Linked DNA regions of Homo sapiens: regions 1, 2, 3 and 5 are each linked to region 4. Evidence: promoter capture Hi-C in 16 types of primary human blood cells and fetal thymus (Javierre and others, 2016). All regions are on one chromosome and are shown on one strand. The core of a region is centred on a gene start or on the middle of the fragment in contact, and the rest is flanking DNA. Distances in the headings are between cores, read along the strand shown. Region 1 overlaps P4HA3-AS1 (P4HA3 antisense RNA 1). Region 2 overlaps PPME1 (protein phosphatase methylesterase 1). Region 3 holds the start of LIPT2 (lipoyl(octanoyl) transferase 2). Region 4 holds the start of UCP2 (uncoupling protein 2). Region 5 has its middle 21 kb from the start of KCNE3.

Region 1 (2,700 bases), core at 63-2,562, 340 kb before region 4:
TTTTTGCCATTCATCCCTCAATGTGCTATGCTTATTCTCAAAACAGATCATTGAGATTTTGCCAAAGAAAGTGGCTTCCGTAGTTCCGTGCACTTCCTCTTTTGGAGCATGTGTCACTCTTGTTGTTGGCTGTTTGCTTCTCTGTCTCCACTACTTAACTTGTCCCCACCTGGCTCTGAGGGTGAGGATCCCAATGTCTGCTGGGTCCCTCTGGGGCCAAGCACAGCAGCTGGCACCCGGGATGCTCAGTAATAATTGAATGGATGAATGAATGCTAGACTCTGAGGACAAAGAGAAGCTTCACAAAAATTTCCTAGCCTATGTGAAGAACAGATGTATTGAATTAATAAATTGATCTCTCCGCTAAGCCAACAGCAAATGTGGGACTAGGATGGTGGGTTTGAGCTGGCCTATAAGCTCCACTAGGGGTCACTGTGGCAATGCCTCGGAGTCTTAAAAAATCACGTTATTTCCATGGAAAGACTCTACCTACTTCGAATGGAAATGTGATTTTTCAAAGGTGGTAGTGGTTTTATTTTGTGTTTTAATAAGCTCCCCATTCAGTCCACTGGAGAGAGCTGTATGTGAGCCACCCGTGAGTCTGAAGGACTTAGTAACCCCTGCTTGGTGCCCACTTTATGCCTGTAGTGGTTCTTCAACTTGGAACCACCATAACAGCTTTCACAAACATGATTTAATTTATCTTCCACATCAGATGTTGGCAGCCAGGATAGAGATTGTTATTATTTCCATCTTAAAAATGATATTTCTAGAACGTTAAGTAATTTTCCCAAGGAATCACAGCTGGTACCTACCTAAGCAGGGACTTGAATCTGGGTCTTTCGAATACAAATGTATTAGTTTACTAAAAATATATTGAGTTCCAGGCTCTGTAAAAGATGATAGAGATGCAAAGACATGCCCCCCAAACTTAATGTCTTAGAAGCAAAGACTGTCAAAGCGGAAAGGAACTTTGAAGATCACCTAATGAAGTGTTCTCAACTCGGATGTGTGTAAGAATCACCTCAAGAGCCTGTTATAAATGCAGATTTCCTGGACTTTGCCTGTCTTCCACCCTCTTACAGTCTGATTCAATGAATCTGGGTGGACCTTGGAATCTGAATTTTTCATAAGAACATCCACATTTACCTGAATAATTCTGTTGCAAATAGACTGTGGACCACACTGAGAAACACTGATCTATTGGTTTCATCCTTTCATAATATAAAGGAGAAACTGAGGTGATGTGAGTCCCCTGGAAATATTCCTTGGATGTAGAAGGGAGGCTAACCCAGGAACTGATAATGAGCAATGTGAAGTAATGATGCAATGGAAAGAGCACTCGACTGAGAGCTGGGGACCCTGGGCTTACCGTCTTGCAGCTGAGTCACTTCATTTCCATAAACTGGTTTTCTCAACTGTAAAATGCAGGACAATACATACTTCATAGGCTTATGATGAGGACAGGCAATTCAAAAGATTTGGAAGAAGACTGGCACTAGAGACACTTGATAAAGAGATTAACAGGATTGTTTTGAATGCTCTTTCTACTTTATTTATCTATTCTCTTATTTTCATTTTTATTTTCTTGGCTGGGTGTGGTGGCCCACGCCTGTAATCCTAACACTTTGGGAGGCCGAGGTGGGCAGATTGCCTGAGCTCAGGAGTTCAAAACCAGCCTGGGCAACACGGTGAAACCCTGTCTCTACTAAACAATACAAAAAAATTAGCCAGGCATGGTGGTGGGCGCCTGTAGTCCCAGCTGCTTGGGAGGCTGAGGCAGGAGAATTGCTTGAACCTGGGAGGTGGAGGTTGCAGTGAGCCAAGATCACGCGACTACACTCCAGCCTGGGGGACAGAGGAGGACTCCGTCTCCAAAAAAAAAAAAAAAAAAAAAAAAAAAACAGAATTATTTTCTTGAGACAGAGTCTTGCTACCTTGCCCAGGCTGTAGTGCAGTGGCACAATCATGACTCACTGTAGCCTTGATCTCCCAACCTCCTTTCTCAGCCTCCCAAGTAGCTCGCACCACAGGCATGCACCACCACTCCTGGCTAATATTTTTATTTTTGTCTCTCTACGTTACCCAGGCTGGTCTTGAACTCCTGGGCCTCCCAAAGTGTTGGGATTGCAGGCCTGAGCCTCCATGCCTAGTCTATTCTATATTTTTAAACGAGTACTTGCAATTGCCAGGCACTCAGCTAGGAACCATCTCACCTATATGAAGTATATGATCTAGTGTAGCAGACAGCCATTAATTATACAAATAAGAAGTAATAATAATAGTTATTATTATTATTATCATTATTATTCTGAGACAAGCTTTCACTCTGTTACCTAAACTGGAGTGCAGTAGCGCAATTCTGGCTCACTGTAGCCTCAACCTCCTGGACTCAAGCAATCCTCCCACCTCAGCCTCCTAGCTGGGACTACAGGCACACATCTCCACAATCAGATAATTTTTAACTTTTCTGTGGAAACGGGGTCTCACTGTTGCCCAGGCTGGTCTCGAACTCCTGGCTTCAAGTGATCCTCCTGCCTCAGCTTCCCAAAGTGCTGGGTTTACAGGCGTGAGCCACTGTGCCTGGCCCAAATAAAAAATTATAATTGTCATAAATGCTACCAAGGGAAAATACAGGGTGTGTTTTGAATAATATGAAGACTTGAACCTAGTCTGCAGACAAATAAAATGTCCCTGAGG
Region 2 (2,700 bases), core at 194-2,693, 270 kb before region 4:
TAAAAGAGCCCTCTCTTATGCAGCCTCATAGGTCATTCCAGGAGCCCAGGACCTACCTCCCCATTTCCAACCTCACCTCAATACTCTGGACCCAATTATCAAGTCTTGCTGAGGATGGTAATACAAGTAATTGTAACCTTGCGCCAATCATTTCCCTTCACTTTTTCCTTCTGTCCTATTTAGTGTACATTTACTGTGGGCCAGAGACACATAGAAGAAACAGTTCTTGTCCTCAGGGGATTTACAGTCCAGTAGGGGAGTAAAACACAAAAACCAACATTTTAATGCAGCATGTCATTCCTATGATAAAACTGGCTACATGGGGCTGTAAGAGCATAAGAAAGGGAACTTCACAATCCAAGAGGGAACCAGGAAGGAAGGAAGGCTTGAAATGGCTTGGAATACAAGAAGCTTGGCATGGTGCTTATGAGAGTGGTTAACAATAAGGCTGGAGAGGTAAGCAGGGGCCAAACCATTAAGGATTTTGTAAGCTATGTTAAGGATTCAAAATGTATTATTACAATAATAAGTTACCATCTGAGCACTTAAGCATGTGCCAGGCATTGTACTAAGCACTTTCTCATACTGTCTTACAGAACACTGTAAGCTCGTAACTAATGCGACAATGATTGAGAATGAACAGCGATGACTGATAAAGAAGATCCCTAAGGAGACTAAAGGATATGAGACCCAGAGCCCCCATAAGTAGAGACAGCAGATTTTCTCAGCCTCAGATTCTCTATTTATAAAATAAAGGAATGGGCTTGAAAGTTCTTCTGGTCATTACATCCTGTGGTTCTTACCCCAGTTACGCAGGATTCAAAAGTTTTCAGTGTATTCTTCTATCCATTTTTAAAGTTGATTCTCAAAATCTACCCTATACAATTAAGCACAAAAATACTGAAATTCTTTTCTGAGATGATGAAACTGAGGCCATGATTAGTGAAGTAACCTGCCCAAGGCCACTTCATTAATTAGTGGAGGAATAAGATGATCCCATTTAGTAAAGTCCATCCTGTGCCCCTCCTCCTGCAGTAAGCTGCCTCTCTCTGGGTGCTCAAGCCTAGTCACCTCTCCCTTCTAGCTCCTAAAGTTGTTAATGCACTTGGATCCAAACACAGAGCAGCACATGGCCCTCTTGTAAGTTTCAAGTAAGTTTACATTTTACATGCCACTGGTGCTTGCCTCCCCAGGAGTGTGTCATTTCCATAAGAACAGGGGACAATGGTGTTATTACTTGCTCTATATCCCTAATAAGACCTAACACAGGGTAGGGCACTGAGTAGATGCTTAAGTCTTTAGCGAATGAATGATGAACAAATGACTAGATCCAAAACTTACAACTCCAATCTCCCTGTTCTTTCTGTTAGATCAGCTCTGATGACTAGGGACGCATTTGTCCTTCCTCTTTGGAAGAGTAGGTATAATCAGAGAGAACTCACATACACCAACAACACTGTGCCAGGTACACATAAAATAACATGTTCATGGGTAATCCTCATGATTATTCTATGAGGTGGGAATATTTCCAAACTCTTCTCTCCCATTGCACAGATTAGGAGCCTTAGGTTCAGAGAGCCTAAATTATTTACCCAAGGGGTACTATGAATAGGTGGTAGTTTTCCAGGATTTCATAACTAAGTCAGTTGGTTTGAACACAGTGCTGGCAAAGCTGTGGTTTGGAATCTATGCAGCCTTAGCCATTTCCCTTTGTTCTGTGGAATGTTCCTTATCCTCGCCATTTACTCTCTATACTCATAGGAGGCTTTCTTTAAACCAGAAGGTGGTCTTGATATAATCCATATTGAGGAAACAGGAGGACATCTCATAAGGAATCGTGATTACTTCCTGAATATAATGAAAGGCATCATTTGTTAGACTACCCGCATTTTTTTCATTTAAACTTCATGTAACTGTACTGAGATATATCATTATCTCCATTTCACAGATGAAGAAACTCAAAATTAAATAAGTTAGGAATTCACTCATACCGCAAAACTATTAACAGTGATTCAAACCCAGGATTGTCTGATTCCAAGGCTGGTGATCAACAATGATTTCAAATGCTATCCCAGTCCATGTCAACTGCCTTCAGGCAGTCTCAGGGGCCATATCTGATTCTTCTGTCTGCCCAGCATCATGCATAGGTCTTGCACAGAAAGGGTGCCTAGGAAAGGTTTCTTGAATTGAACTTAAGTGTCTTAGATTCAATTTCATGGCACTCATGTTGGTAATTACGGGCTTAGACATTTATAAGCATCTACTTAAATAAGTGTCTAAGCCCATAATTACCAACATCAGTGCCATGGAAAAAAAATCACACAGTCCCAGCTCATAGTCCTATTCTAGGCCTCAGGATACAATGTAGTTAAAGGAAGGCAAAGCCATGAAGGTCTGGGACCAGAGTTTTATATGTGAGAGCCTTTGAACAACTATTATGAGAGAATATAGCTCCTTTTGCTGTGGAAAGCTTGAGGATAGCTAAAAGAACAGTTTGAGAGGCCCATGAGATATCCAGCAGGTTTGCTACATAGGCTAGGACTGGATCTCAGGAGAGAGGGGTGAGGTGGATGTTTAGCTTTGGGAGTCATCAATATATAAATGGAAGCCATGAAATTGTCCAGGGAGAGTAAGTAGGGAAGAAAGGTCTAGAACAGATTCTGCCTGAGCCTGAAACTTTGGTCTTGGAGTTGGCACCTC
Region 3 (2,700 bases), core at 46-2,545, 510 kb before region 4:
TTTAATTAAAATAGTACATATGTGATTTCTCTTGTCCAAACCCTGATTGATAATTTGAACCCTTCATCAGACTGGAAAATTTCTCTTCTATTCCTAGATTGCTAAGTATTTTGGTCAGAAGAGGTGTTTATTTTTGCCAATAGATTTATCTGTATTTTTTAACATAATCATAGCTTTTCTTTAAAAAAAATTTTTATTATTTCTTCCAATGAAGGCTTTTCTCTTTTAAGGTAAATTACATTGTTTGATTTCAGAATGCAAAACCAACCTTGCATTCCCGGGATAAACCCTACTTCATCATGATGTATTAATCCTTTTATAAATTGCTGGATTTGATTTGCTAATATTTGCTTAGGATCTTTATGTCTATGTTTATGAAATGTTTTTCAGACACCTATGGTGTCTGAAAAGTCCTCAGTAAAAATTCATTGAATTCAGACTTGTTTAAATGATACTCTAACTGCAACATAGCTGATGTTGTGGTCCAGACACCCCCTCAGGGCCTAGACAGTCATTCCCTCAGCTTCTGGAGTTGGTTACTGATGATACACAACTGAGTCCTTCTCTGGGGGCCGCCCTCCACCGAGGGAAGCAGTCTTGCCAAAAAAAAAAAAAAAAAAAAAATCACAGCTCCTCCCCAGGTGTAGCCTGTATCCATGACTGGTCAATGCAAGGATAAGAGTTTCTGGCCCCCTTGCTTTAATGTGGAACTACTCTGAAGGGTCATCCTAGGCTCCAAGCATGCCTTGGGATTGGTCAAGGCCTCTGCTGCAACTGTTTTGCAGGCCAACTTCTTCCTCTGCCTACAAATTCCTGCTTCCTTCACTTTCTTACAGGTGCTGATCTTTAAGTTCTCCCTACCTCCACCAATAACCTTGTAGGCAAGCTAATCTCCCTCTTGCGTCCCCCAGGGGCTCAACACAGGACACACCACGTTACCCTGTTTTATTTTTCTTTTCATAGCATTTAACACCTTATACGTGAAATAACCTTATTTACTTAACACTTAAAATACTTATCGTCTGCTGTAAGAATGTAAGCTTACCAGGACAGATCTTTCTCATACGCTATGCACCGCTGTATCAAGCGCCTATGGCAGGGCCTGCAGAACACAGCAGGCACTAAATACTGGTTGTTGAATGAACCGATGAGTCTGGCCCCGCGCTTTTGGTCCTGGGATCACATATCCCCCCTCCAGCTTTTAACACGCACCTGGGAGCTGCGGCTCGGGGTGTGCCCCCGAGTCCCCGCCCCTCAGGCCACGCCCCCAGGCCCACGGAGAGGGCGGGGCCCCGCGGACGCAACGGTGGGCACGATGCGGCAACCCGCCGTTCGGTTGGTGCGCCTGGGTCGGGTGCCGTACGCCGAGCTACTGGGGCTGCAGGACCGCTGGCTGCGGCGGCTGCAGGCCGAGCCAGGCATTGAGGCCCCGTCGGGGACTGAGGCGGGCGCGCTCCTGCTCTGCGAGCCCGCGGGGCCCGTGTATACGGCCGGGCTGCGCGGCGGCCTGACGCCCGAGGAAACTGCGCGGCTACGGGCCTTGGGCGCCGAGGTGCGCGTCACAGGCCGCGGTGGCCTGGCCACCTTCCACGGCCCGGGCCAGCTGCTTTGCCACCCGGTACTCGACCTGCGGCGTCTCGGCCTGCGCTTGCGCATGCACGTAGCGTCGCTGGAGGCGTGCGCCGTGCGCCTGTGCGAGCTCCAGGGCCTGCAGGACGCCCGCGCGCGGCCCCCGCCCTACACTGGCGTCTGGCTAGACGATCGCAAGATCTGCGCGATCGGTGAGCGCCGCGGAGCAGGGCGGTACCTGAGAGCCGAGGTCGGAGCTTGAGGCCTGGGGGCGGGGTCTGACGGGGCTGGACCAACGGAGGTGAGGGCCGGGAGGAGGCGTATCTAGCGCGGGTTTTGAATCACAGCTACCCGCTGCGTTTGAGTTTTTAAGCCCCTTTTCAGATATCGTATATTCAGAAGCAGAAGGCTCCTCACATCTAGTCCAACACGCATTTCTGTTAAGGGAGAGACAAGAGAAGTGAATTGCCAGGTTACGTCCTGCGAATGACAATGTCATGGCAAATAAGGGTGCTAATTTTCAAACTTTTTTTTTTTTTTTTTTTTGAGACAGAGTCTCGCTTTGTCACCCAGGCTGGAGTGCAGTGGCGCAATCTCGGCCCACTGCAAGCTCCGCCTCCCGGGTTCACGCCATTCTCCTGCCTCAGCCTCCAGAGTAGCTGGGGCTACAGGCGCCCACCACCAGCCCGGCTAATTTTTTGTATTTTTAGTAGAGATGGGGTTTCACCGTGTTAGCCAGGATGGTCACGATCTCCTGACCTCGTGATCCGCCCGCCTCGGCCTCCCAAAATGCTGGGATTACAGGCGTGAGCCACTGCGCCTGTCCCCAAGCTTTTTTTTTTTTAAGTATTGGAATCTGTTAAAAGACATTTCCTGGAATCCTCATGATGAGTGCAGCTGCTTGAAGCCACGCACCCCTTCCTTTCATTTGTTTCCTTTTCCCATCTGAGTACAATCCCTTGTTTCTCCAGAAACAAAATTTGAAAACCGGTGATCTAATCCAGTTTTCTCATCGCCCTGAGAGGGACACCAAAGCCCGGAGAGTGGAGGGTATCTACTCTAAGACCCTTTGGCTTGCCTTGCAGGAGTCCGCTGTGGAAGGCACATCACATCCCACGGCCTGGCTCTCAA
Region 4 (2,700 bases), core at 61-2,560:
TTTTTTTTTTCTTTTCTTTCTTTCTCTTTCTTTCTTGTCTTTCTGTCTTTCCTCTCTCTCTCTCTGTCTTTCTTTCCTCTCTTTCTTTCTTTTTTCCTACATGGCAAGATCTCCTCATGGCAGAAATAATCTGCCTTGACTTCTGTTTCCACGCTGCTTCTGCCAGGACCATGCGCTCGGCGTGTTTTTCTTTCCGCTATAATTATCCAGGCCCATCCCAGCTCTGGTCCCCTCAGCTGTTCCCTGGCAGTCCCTTCTGCTGGTGAAAACACATATGGCGCCGGCCTGACCAGGGTGTAAGTGTGTGAATATCAGGAAGATGACTGAACGTCTTTGGGACTCCGTTTCCTCATTGTAAAATGGAGGTTAATACCAGCCTTCTTCTACTCCCCAAACGCACGTGTTTGTCCCGGCCAGAGGGCCCAATTGTTGGCTGTTCACGCGTCAGTTACCCCCACAGGACGGGTCAGCCAATTAAAGGCGAACCAGGCCCGGTCCATCTCCTGACGCCTTTTCTCATCCCAGGGCTGGACAGGCAGCTGGCCTGGGCCCGGCTCTGCCTTGTCACGTGCGGGGGCCGGCCCGTTTGCTTGTCTGTGTGTAGGAGCGTGAGGTCACGCTGGGTGCTCCCGCCCCGCCGGGGCCTTTAGTGTCCTGGTCCCTAAACGCCAGGCCGCTCCACCGGGGGAGAAGGCGCGAACCCCAGCCGAGCCCAACGGCTGTTGTCGGTTGCCGGGCCACCTGTTGCTGCAGTTCTGATTGGTTCCTTCCCCCGACAACGCGGCGGCTGTAACCAATCGACAGCGAGGCCGGTCGCGAGGCCCCAGTCCCGCCCTGCAGGAGCCAGCCGCGCGCTCGCTCGCAGGAGGGTGGGTAGTTTGCCCAGCGTAGGGGGGCTGGGCCCATAAAAGAGGAAGTGCACTTAAGACACGGCCCCGCTGGACGCTGTTAGAAACCGTCCTGGCTGGGAAGGCAAGAGGTGTGTGACTGGACAAGACTTGTTTCTGGCGGTCAGTCTTGCCATCCTCACAGAGGTTGGCGGCCCGAGAGAGTGTGAGGCAGAGGCGGGGAGTGGCAAGGGAGTGACCATCTCGGGGAACGAAGGAGTAAACGCGGTGATGGGACGCACGGAAACGGGAGTGGAGAAAGTCATGGAGAGAACCCTAGGCGGGGCGGTCCCCGCGGAAAGGCGGCTGCTCCAGGGTCTCCGCACCCAAGTAGGAGCTGGCAGGCCCGGCCCCGCCCCGCAGGCCCCACCCCGGGCCCCGCCCCCGAGGCTTAAGCCGCGCCGCCGCCTGCGCGGAGCCCCACTGCGAAGCCCAGCTGCGCGCGCCTTGGGATTGACTGTCCACGCTCGCCCGGCTCGTCCGACGCGCCCTCCGCCAGCCGACAGACACAGCCGCACGCACTGCCGTGTTCTCCCTGCGGCTCGGTGAGCCTGGCCCCAGCCCTGCGCCCTTTGCGCCCCCCACGCTTGTTCTGCGTGCGCTGCCCGCTCTTCCATTTACCTTCTCTCCCACCCAAGTTTGTACTCTTTTCTTTCTCTCGGTTTTATTTTTTGTTTTTGTTTGTTTGTTTGAGACAGGCTTTCGCTCTGTCTCCCAGGCTGGAGTGCAGTGGCGCGATCTCGGCTCACTGCAGCCTCCACCTCCCAGGTTCAAGCGATCCGCCTGCCGAGTAGCTGGGATTACAGGCGCCCGCCACCACGCCTGGCTAATTTTTGTGTTTTGTAGAGATGGGGTTTCGCCATGTTGGCCAGGCTGGCCTCGAACTGCTGAGCTCAAGCAATCCGCCCGCCTCGGCCTCACAAAGTCCTAGAATTTTAGGCATGAGCCTCCGGGTCCGGCCTGTGCTAATCCTTTCTGTCCTTGGTTCTTTATTTCTCTTCTCTCTTTTTCTTAGTCCCTTTTGTTCTTTCCCTCTCCCGTTCAGTTGGCTGTCGTTTGAGCCTCCACCTTTTCACTCCCTCCTTTCCACCACGATGCCGAGCCCTGCCTTGGATGGGGACCATCAGCGATGACCACAATGACCTCTCCCTTACCAGGCAGCTCCAGGCAGTGTTCCTGCACCGCCTTTCCCAGGGCTTGGGGGCTTTTTCTAGTGGGCTTTGAGCTGCTCAATCTGGCCTCTGCAGGGCCGGCTCCCAGCCCTTCCAACCTCCTCACAGCCCGACCTGGGACCTAGCCAATTCCCGGAGAGTCTCTGTCCCATCGTGACCCCCTCACAACTCTCCCACTCACCAAAGTCTGATGACTGTGCTAGGGGGTGCTTATATAGAGTACTGAGTGTTACAAAAGCAGAAGTCTGGATGAGAACCAATTTGTGATATTAAGCAGGTGGGGTGGGGGTGGGGAGTGTACCTAGGTTCATTTTCCGCCCTGCTTTTCCCCTTTCCAGTGTGTGCACTTAACCAGTCCCTGGGCCCTGTTCCCCATCCCCCTCCAAGGCATGGATTGGGTGGGCTTGTGTGTCTTGGGGCAGGTGGCCCTTTCTAAACTCTCTGCCTTTGCTCACCCACAGGACACATAGTATGACCATTAGGTGTTTCGTCTCCCACCCATTTTCTATGGAAAACCAAGGGGATCGGGCCATGATAGCCACTGGCAGCTTTGAAGAACGGGACACCTTTAGAGAAGCTTGATCTTGGAGGCCTCACCGTGAGACCTTACAAAGCCGGGTAAGAGTCCAGTCCAAGGAAGA
Region 5 (2,700 bases), core at 109-2,608, 460 kb before region 4:
ATAATGTCACATGGAACAAGTGCAAAAATGCAAGTCCCAGCACAAAATGAAAATGCTGGCACCTTGTTCAAAAATTACCGATAATTTAAAGATGGTGACAGCAGAGTATTAAACCAAGTGTGGGGGCCCTTGTAAGCATAGGCCATGGTGGCACATCCACAGCCTGGCACAGAGTGGGTCTGCAATAAATTGTAGTCCTTTTTCTCTCTAGATCACTGATTATAACCCTCTCCTTTTGCAGATGAGGAAACTGGAGTCCAAAGAAGAGTTTAAAAATGCAAATCAGGGCCGGGCACGGGGGCTCATACCTGTAATCCCAGCACTTTGGGAGGCCAAGGTGGGTAGATCATGAGGTCAGGAGTTCGAGACCAGCCTGGCCAACCTGGTGAAACACCGTCTCTATTAAAAATTAAAAAATTAGCCAGGTTCAGTGGCATGTGCCTGTGATCCCAGCTACTCAGGAGGCTAAGACAGGAGAATCGCTTGAATCCGGGAGGCAGAGGTTGCAGTGAGCTGAGTTCACCCTACTGCACTCCAGCCTGGGCAATAGAGCAAGACTCCTTCTTGGTGGAGGGGGGGAACACAACTTAGTACCAGAGCCAAGACCACAACCAGACCTCCTTTGTTCCTAGCCAGTGGTCTTTACCCAGCATTTCCAAAGCCTGTGTTCTATATGATGATAATAGATATTCCATGTATAAAAGTTTCCATCAACAAGCAAGTTTATAAAACACTGGATTAAGATTAAAGAGACATCTTTTGCAGAGCTCTTCAGAGACTTTTATGTGCAACAGGAGTCTCCAAGACAGGGATATAATATGAAACATTGCACAAAAGTATTTGATGTGGGACCCTTTTGCAGGAGCATATTAAGCGTCTCTCAGAACTCTTTCAGAAATGCCACTCTAAACACTGCCCCAGGGTGATGGAAGTTTCCATGGGTTTTGATCTGTGGGGTGTGGTTGTTTTTATTCTAAATTAGAAGCAAATATATTATTTCCACTAGTCCTTTCTGTCAGCATCCCTGTCCCAGCTGACTTGTGAGCCTGAGGATATAAAGATAATGAAAACCAGACTCCAGGAAAAGCACACTTGTTTAGAGTCACCCAGCTGCATCCATAAGGCAGATGCAATATGCCTCTCTCCCAAGAGTAGAACACAGACAAAACATACACTAGGATCCCAAAATTCTTTCCATTCTGGGTAATTTGCTCACAGACATCACATTGCAAAAGTAATAGCCAAAGTCCCCTATAAAGTCACATAAGAAGCTGGGAAATCAGGATTCTTATCTCAGCACCTTCATTTATTAGCTGTTTGACCTAAATTGATCAATTCATCAGCTCGTCACTTTGCTTTTATCAAATACCTTCTTGCATCAAATTAAATTAATTTCTCCCTTTGTTGAACTACCATTATTTCATCTGTAGCACTCTCCCCCCAGGACTTTGAGAATCTCTATGGAATGTAGTTTGAAAATCAGCAGATTGGATGATTACTATAGATCATCCAGTCTATATGGATGGATGAAATCTATACAGAATCTATAGGGAAAGGAACTATAGTTCCTTTCAGCTATAATAGTCTGTGATTCAAATTTATATACAGTTTTGCGACCTATTGCCTCTGCCTATTAACCAAGGACCCTAGTTCCCTGAGAAATGCACCTCTTAATTTCTGAGAGGCCTGGAGAGTGATTCTCACATGCTGAATTGATGAGATGCCAGGTGACTTGGACACTTCTGGAGTTCCCAGTACATAGCATCTGTTACATGGAATGCATGGAGGTGAGGAAACTCTCTCTCCCCATCGTGCTATACTTTGTCACATGGGTTTCTAATGGGTAATATTTATGTCCTTTGCTTTCAGTAAAGCAGCTCTTCTATATTTTGCTGATTCCTTCCTAACCCCAGTTTCCCTCTACAAATTCCTAAGCCTGAGCTGCAGCAAGGTCAAGAAACAAATCTGTATGACAAACCTAATGTTAAATGTTGGCTCATTCCTCCTTGATTTTGAAGATTCTATTACTGGATCCATGTTGCCTATCTCCTTACTTTCCTTAAGATGAGTTCTCTCCCAGGAGAGACCCAAAGCCCTCACAAAAAATGGACTTTGGGTGAGTTGGGCCTACTAGGTCGAATATGCCCAATTGGTTCCTCCAGGAAGCAGATGCCAAAATGGAGTGAGAAGTGCCAGAAATGTACTGGGGCGGGGAATGCCTGTGAGGGAGCAGGAGTAGATGCGGGAGCCTCAGATGGTGATGCAGATCTGACACCAGCGAAAAAAAGAGGGAAGGAAGAAGGACCAGGCAGGAGGAGCGTCAGGTTTCAATGCAGCTCTGAGAAAGTCTCAGCCAGGCTGATGAGGAGCCCCAGAGCAGAGACTGCCCATTACAGGAGTCCCATGTTGGGCAGGAATGGCTTGACTTTCATACGTCTGCAGAGCTTGGTCAGTGGCAGGGAGAAGGCCAGGGTGAGCATAACCGGGGTGTAAACACTGCAGGAGAGCCCAAAGGTGCTGCTGCCTGAGGCCGGCCACTAACTGCTCTTCTCCCAGCAGGCTCCCTGTGGGAGACCTGAACAGCTCACTCCTGGTGGCTGCCATATCACGAATACCCACACCTGTGTGAATTCCAAAAGTGGACATAATTTAAGCTCAAACGGAGCCCCAAATGTACATTTATTACAATTTTTTGTTGAG

The links. Contacts are between HindIII fragments. The CHiCAGO score rates a contact against its expected background, and 5 or more counts as called.
Region 1: a contact is called between a fragment that was not itself captured here and the fragment with the promoter of UCP2 in region 4, in 1 of 17 cell types (endothelial precursors). The highest score is 5.8, in endothelial precursors.
Region 2: a contact is called between a fragment that was not itself captured here and the fragment with the promoter of UCP2 in region 4, in 1 of 17 cell types (endothelial precursors). The highest score is 5.8, in endothelial precursors.
Region 3: the fragment with the promoter of LIPT2 here is called in contact with the fragment with the promoter of UCP2 in region 4 in 1 of 17 cell types (fetal thymus); the score reaches 8.0 in fetal thymus.
Region 5: a fragment that was not itself captured here is called in contact with the fragment with the promoter of UCP2 in region 4 in 1 of 17 cell types (endothelial precursors); the score reaches 5.4 in endothelial precursors.

The regions. Positions count from the first base shown.
Region 1 is chr11:74,319,400-74,322,099 of GRCh38, reverse strand. All of the region lies in intron 3 of P4HA3-AS1 (P4HA3 antisense RNA 1), which reads right to left. Among named protein-coding and RNA genes, the nearest start is that of P4HA3, 9.1 kb to the right of the region's middle. The HindIII fragment of the contact is 2,023 bases long and covers 301-2,323 here.
Region 2 is chr11:74,248,219-74,250,918 of GRCh38, reverse strand. All of the region lies in intron 11 of PPME1 (protein phosphatase methylesterase 1), which reads right to left. It also overlaps a transcript of P4HA3 not described here. Among named protein-coding and RNA genes, the nearest start is that of P4HA3-AS1, 62 kb to the left of the region's middle. RefSeq lists a silencer at 161-455. The HindIII fragment of the contact is 2,059 bases long and covers 414-2,472 here.
Region 3 is chr11:74,492,319-74,495,018 of GRCh38, reverse strand. It overlaps LIPT2 (lipoyl(octanoyl) transferase 2), which reads left to right and starts at 1,295. Exons shown (of 2, transcript NM_001144869.3): 1 at 1,295-1,781; 2 at 2,655-2,700. The coding sequence starts at 1,316. LIPT2-AS1 (LIPT2 antisense RNA 1) reads right to left here and starts at 1,639. Exons shown (of 2, transcript NR_171028.1): 1 at 1,046-1,639. RefSeq lists silencers at 1,060-1,309, 1,420-1,529. The HindIII fragment of the contact is 1,360 bases long and covers 1,043-2,402 here.
Region 4 is chr11:73,981,453-73,984,152 of GRCh38, reverse strand. It overlaps UCP2 (uncoupling protein 2), which reads left to right and starts at 1,310. Exons shown (of 8, transcript NM_003355.3): 1 at 1,310-1,432; 2 at 2,521-2,677. RefSeq lists an enhancer at 1-473 and silencers at 730-889, 1,190-1,399. The HindIII fragment of the contact is 10,071 bases long and covers 1-2,638 here.
Region 5 is chr11:74,445,003-74,447,702 of GRCh38, reverse strand. No RefSeq gene overlaps it. Among named protein-coding and RNA genes, the nearest start is that of KCNE3, 21 kb to the left of the region's middle. The HindIII fragment of the contact is 3,014 bases long and covers 1-2,700 here.